Linked DNA regions of Homo sapiens: region 1 is linked to region 2. Evidence: promoter capture Hi-C in human tissues and cell types (Jung and others, 2019). All regions are on one chromosome and are shown on one strand. The core of a region is centred on a gene start or on the middle of the fragment in contact, and the rest is flanking DNA. Distances in the headings are between cores, read along the strand shown. Region 1 overlaps LRRC36 (leucine rich repeat containing 36). Region 2 holds the start of PLEKHG4 (pleckstrin homology and RhoGEF domain containing G4).

Region 1 (2,814 bases), core at 93-2,592, 62 kb after region 2:
AGATCCGTCCATTCTGCTTCCCTCCCCTATTCATATCTGGACCTTTTATTTCCTTTGCATCTATGTCCCTGTTCCATTCAGTGTAGATTCTACTCCCACTAATTTCTCCGTGGTATGGGTCTTGTCCTGAAAGGGATCTTTGGTTTATGACTATTTAAAGCTTATGGGGGCCAGGCACGGTGGCTGACGCCTGTAATCCCACCACTTTGGGAGGCCAAGTCAGGTGGATCACCTGAGGTCAGGAGTTTGAGACCAGCCTGGGTAACATGGTGAAACCCCGTCTCTACTGAAAGTACAAAAATTAGCCAGGCATAGTGGCACACACCTTAATCCCACCTACTTGGGAGGCTGAGGCAGGAGAATCACTTGAACCCAGGAGATGGAGGTTGCAGTGAGCCAAGATCGCACCATTGCACTCCAGCCTGGGTGACAAGAGTGAGATTCCATCTCAATAAATAAATAAATAATAAAATAAAATAAAGTTTATGGGACCCAGACTGCTCTAGCAACTTAAGATCTTATTTCAATGCAGTCTCCTGGCACTTATCTGCAAACTGGATTCTGTAGAACTCTCTTCCAGTTTTGGTTGCTATTCGCAGTTTGGCCTACCACCCTTGCCAGTGAGTTCTTACTGACAATTTTGAGATTCTCCCCTTTTCAGGACTGTTAATAGTCTAGTTGATGCCCAGGCTCAGTGGCTCATGCCTGTAATCCCAGCACTTTGGGAGGCTGAGGCTGAGACTGGTGGATCACCTGAGGTCAGGAGTTCAAGAGCAGCTTGGCAAAACCCCGTTTCTACCTAAAATACAAAAAATTAGCCGGGTGTGGTGGTGCACACCTGTGTTCCCAGCTACTTGGGAGGCTGAGGCAGGAGAATCTCTTGAACTTGGGAGGTGGAGGTTGCAGTGAGCTGAGATCACACCACTGCACTCCAGCTTGGGCGAAAGAGCAAGACTCCATCTCAAAAAAAATAGAAAAAAAAGTCTAGTTGACTTTTATCTACTTCTTCTCATATATGTATATTCTATATATATACTCTATAGAATATATACCACATATACTCTATAGAATATATACCACATATACTCTATAGAATATATACCACATATACTCTATAGAATATATACCACATATACTCTATAGAATATATACCACATATACTCTATAGAATATATACTACATATACTCTATAGAATATATACTACATATACTCTATAGAATATAGAATATGTACTACATATACTCTATAGAATATAGAATATGTACTACATATATTCTATAGAATATAGAATATGTATATTATATATAGAATATGTATTCTATAGAATATGTACTCTACATATTCTATAGAATATGTACTCTACATATTCTATAGAATATGTACTCTACATATTCTATAGAATATGTACTCTACATATTCTATAGAATATGTACTCTACATATTCTATAGAATATGTACTCTACATATTCTATAGAATATGTACTCTACATATTCTATATATAGATTTAATATATGTCATTTAATATATAATTTAATATATATAATTATATATAATTATATATATTCTATATATACTATAGCCTATCTATAGTCTATAGACAGTCTATAGACTATAGACTATAGACTATATATAGTCTATATATATGTTTTGTACATATGCATTAATTTAATTCTTGTAACACCTTATGAATTGAGTACCATTGTTACCCCCATTTTACAGATGAGGAAACTGATGCACAAAGAGGTTAAGTGACTTGAACAAGGTCGCAGATGTAGTATATTGTCTTTCGTATCAATGTACTATTATTTAGGCTGTCTGGCTCTATTTTTCTGCTGATGGACCTTTGACAGTTTTCTATTTCTTTCTTTTTAATTTTTTTTACTATCTTAAAACCGCTCTGAAATTGACATCCTTGTGCTATATTTTATATAACCTGCCAAAATTTTGTGGTTATTATCCATAGGGCTAAATCCTAGCAGTGGGGTTGCTGAATATCTTTTGAAATTTTGTTTTGAGAACTTTTGGAGACTTTTAGTACATCCTTCAGGGAAATTAGAAAAACTCAAGGGCTCTATAAAACTAAGGTTCAATGTCACTATATTAGACCATACTGCTGCTTTTAAAAAGAAGATCTGATCTTATGAGGCTTGGATGTAGGGCCTTGCACAGTTGAGATATGGGAGGAAGAAAGGCCTACTTTCACTGACTCTGCTGTTGATCCGAGCAGGGATCATAATATATCTACTGATGATCTCTTTTCAGAACTGGTGGAGTCTCTTTCATTGCAGGGATCTTATGCTGGCAAAATCCATTCCATTGGTGATGCCTTCAGAAATTTTAAAAATCTCCGATCCTTAGATTTATCAAGGAATTTGATCACTAGCCTTAAGGTAAGTTATATATTCTATGACCAGCCAGGTCTGCCCAATTTATTTTTTTGATGGGAAGAAATAAGAGATAGATCATGTCATCCTGGGGAATATAAGACCTTCCCTTTAAATGATTCCCAACTAAATTTAATTATTTCTTATAAAATTCTTTCAACTTTGCAGTATATTTTAAATTGTTATAAAATATTGGGAGGGCAATTTATTTTATACTCTCGGAAAACTATATTAAGATATCACTGTCTAGGGCAAATGCATAAATTTTAGTGTGTATAAAAAATTATGAAGAACACTTGTAGAAGTACAGATTCTCAGTCCCTACTGTGAGAGTTGGTCTGATTTAGTAGGTCTAGGGTAGGCTCAGGACATACTCAGGGGATTCTGATGATGGTGGTACATGGAGCATACATGGAGAAACACTGGCC
Region 2 (3,069 bases), core at 76-2,575:
TAGGGATGGAGCAGGACAACTCCAAGGCTCCCCTCTGGCAGCCAGACCTGCTCATGAAGAAGGCTCCTCGGTAGCTGCCTGAAAGTCTGGACTCTGGGGGCTGGGCTGGGCTGGGTGGGGAGATTGCTGTTGGTCCCACTGTGCCTGTTGTAATCCCCAGGTTCATGAAAGAGGTGCCTGCCTTAGAGCCAGGGAAGCCGTTGCACCCGGTGCCCCCTCTCCCCAGGGACCATGGGCCTGGGCACACTGTGGGGCTCAGGGTCTTCTCCTGGTCGCAGAGCTGACCTTCCCACAATCTTCCCACAAATTCTGGGGAGTGTCGGGCCAGGCCCACATGCCCTAAAGGGACCTCAAATCGCACAGCTACCCACTTGGGTAGCTTTCATCAGTTCAGGATTCCCTGACTGCGGGTGAAATGAGGGGGCAGGGCACCAACACAGCCCGAGTGCTGGCAGCGGGTGAACGTATAACACAGGGAGTCTTCCCCAGTCCTCACGGCAACCCCAGGAGAAAAATGACTTTCCATTTTTACAGGTGAGGAGGGTGAGGCTCAAAGAGCAGAGTTCCTGGAGCGCCCCCAGCAGGTAAGTGGAGAAGCCAGGCCTGGGCTGGGGGCTCTGGCTCCAGAACCCCACCTCAGCACCAGCCTCCTGCACCGGACTTTGTGGAGAAGGGGGTAAGGGGGTGCCAGGGATGGCAAAGGGGTAGAGGATCTGGTGGACTCTGGCAGGCCTGGGTCAGCTCCACCCATTGGTCTCACTCCCACCCGGATGGCAGCCCCATCCCACGTGGGATCATGCGACCTGTCTCTGGGTGCCCGCGGCGAGGCAGCACCCCGCTTCCCTACACAGAAGGCCTTCCCCTCCCGTCGGCTCATTCAGCCGCGGAAGCCCCTGGGAGACCCCGCCCCGCCCCGTCCCGCGGTGCCCCCCGCGCACTCACCCTCGCTCACCCACGCGGCCTTCCTGGCGGGAGAGCGCTTCCGGCGTCCTCGCCAGGCCCGGGGAGTGGGCACGGTGGAGCTGCCGACCGTTGGTCGCTGCCCCAACCCACGCACTGCGACGCCGCGGGTGAGGCGCGCGGTCTGCGGGGCCCGGGGGTGCGGCGGGGCGGGGCTGGCGGGCTGTCCGGGCCCACGGAGAGGACGGCGGCGGGCGGGGGTTGCTGCAGGGCCCGCACCTTGTCTTCCGCGCCGGCAGGGCTGTGCCCCGTCGAGACCTGCTCGGGCTGTGGCTCCGTCCTCCGGCCTCCAGGGGGCGGCGCGGCGCTGCGCGGCGCCCCGGCGGCACTGCCCTCCCTTCCCAGCGGCCAGGAGGCGGTGTCCCGTGACGCCGCGCGGCCGCGCTGTAGTGGCCGTCGAGGCCGCCGTCTGTTCGAAGGCTGTCCGACTTCACGGTTCCCCGCGGCTCGGCCCGGGGGCGTGAGTGTCGCCAGCGGGCGACGGGGGGGCGCGCGGTAGGCCCTGCAACAAGGCCAGGGCCTGGGGGGGCCGGCAGGAGAGCGAACCCGAGGCATCGTGGTGCCATGGCGGGGCCGCCCCCACGGGCATGGGCCTGCAGAGCGTGGCCGTGAGGACGCTGAGGGTGGGCGCGCACGGAGCAGAGGCCCACGGGCGTCCGACGGGGGACCTGGACAGAGGGACACCCTTAACGTTATTCCCTCTTCCCAGGCCTGAATTGCAGTTCCTGTGCCCTGGCACTAAGACTGGCACCTCCTGCGGCCCATGCCCTTCGCCTGCATTGCCCACTGAGTCCCACTCGACTGTCTTCAGCGCGGTTCACACTGAGACCCAGCCCTCTCCCGCTGGCCCCGAGCAGGCCCACCTTTAGGAGGGCGTGATGGAAAGGCCCCTGGAGAATGGGGATGAGTCCCCAGACTCTCAGGGCCATGCCACCGACTGGAGATTTGCTGTGTGCAGTTTCAGGGATGCCTGGGAAGAGGAGGAACCTGCTTCCCAGATGCACGTTAAGGACCCAGGTCCTCCAAGACCACCAGCCGGGGCCACCCAGGATGAGGAGCTACAGGGCAGCCCCTTGTCCAGGAAATTCCAGTTACCCCCAGCTGCAGATGAGTCGGGGGATGCCCAGAGGGGCACAGTAGAAAGCTCCTCAGTCCTGTCAGAAGGGCCAGGCCCCTCTGGAGTGGAGAGTCTCCTATGCCCCATGTCCTCCCACCTCAGCTTGGCACAGGGTGAGAGTGACACCCCAGGGGTAGGGTTGGTAGGGGACCCAGGTCCAAGCAGGGCGATGCCATCTGGCTTGAGCCCTGGGGCATTGGACAGCGACCCTGTGGGCCTTGGAGACCCTTTATCAGAAATATCAAAGCTGCTGGAGGCAGGTAAGGAAGGCTGGGCTAGGGAAGTCTGGGAAGGGAATGGGGATGCCTGGAGAGATGAGTGTCAAGACTTTGGAGGTCTCTGACCCTACTCAGGCTGAAGCCCGGGTCCAAGTAGGGGTCTCTGGATAGGTGGTCCAAGGCAGACCCAAGTCATTTCCCTTCCCAAGCCCCCAGTGGATCCGGCCTCCCTAAGCCTGCTGACTGCCTCCTGGCCCAAGACCTCTGTTGGGAGCTGCTGGCCAGTGGTATGGCCACCTTGCCAGGTAGCCAGGCGGGCCTAGAGGCGGTGGAGGTGGAGTGGCCCAATACGGCAGGAGTTCACTGCTTCCTCCCCACAGGGACTCGGGATGTCCAAGGCCGGGCAGTGCTGCTTCTGTGTGCCCACAGCCCAGCCTGGCTTCAGTCTGAGTGCAGCAGCCAGGAACTCATCCGCCTCCTGCTGTACCTGCGAAGCATCCCCAGGTTTGAGGGAGGGGGTTGGGAGACTGAGCCTGAGCCAGCTGTGAGGACTGGGAGTCAGGTACTGAACTGAAGCTCACCCCTTTAGGCCCGAAGTACAGGCACTGGGACTGACAGTGCTAGTTGATGCCCGAATTTGTGCTCCAAGTTCTTCCCTCTTCTCTGGGCTCAGCCAACTACAAGTGAGTACAGGATTGTAGCTCCCCTCATTCCTTTTCTTTTCTTTTTTTTTTTTTTTGAGACGGAGTCTTGCCTTTGTCGCCCAGGCTGGAG

Evidence for each region. Contacts are between HindIII fragments. The study calls those that stand out against the background at their distance.
Region 1: a contact is called between a fragment that was not itself captured here and the fragment with the promoter of PLEKHG4 in region 2, in 2 of the 25 tissues and cell types used here (mesenchymal stem cells and spleen).

The regions. Positions count from the first base shown.
Region 1 is chr16:67,339,693-67,342,506 of GRCh38, forward strand. LRRC36 (leucine rich repeat containing 36) reads left to right here. Exons shown (of 14, transcript NM_018296.6): 2 at 2,265-2,392. Among named protein-coding and RNA genes, the nearest start is that of LRRC36, 14 kb to the left of the region's middle. The HindIII fragment of the contact is 3,387 bases long and covers 1-2,814 here.
Region 2 is chr16:67,278,207-67,281,275 of GRCh38, forward strand. It overlaps PLEKHG4 (pleckstrin homology and RhoGEF domain containing G4), which reads left to right and starts at 1,326. Exons shown (of 22, transcript NM_001129729.3): 1 at 1,326-1,420; 2 at 1,670-2,337; 3 at 2,505-2,600; 4 at 2,676-2,799; 5 at 2,885-2,978. The coding sequence starts at 1,839. LOC124903701 (a long non-coding RNA gene) reads right to left here and starts at 1,205. Exons shown (of 3, transcript XR_007065092.1): 1 at 943-1,205. RefSeq lists silencers at 819-978, 1,029-1,458, 1,178-1,359. The HindIII fragment of the contact is 17,100 bases long and covers 1-3,069 here.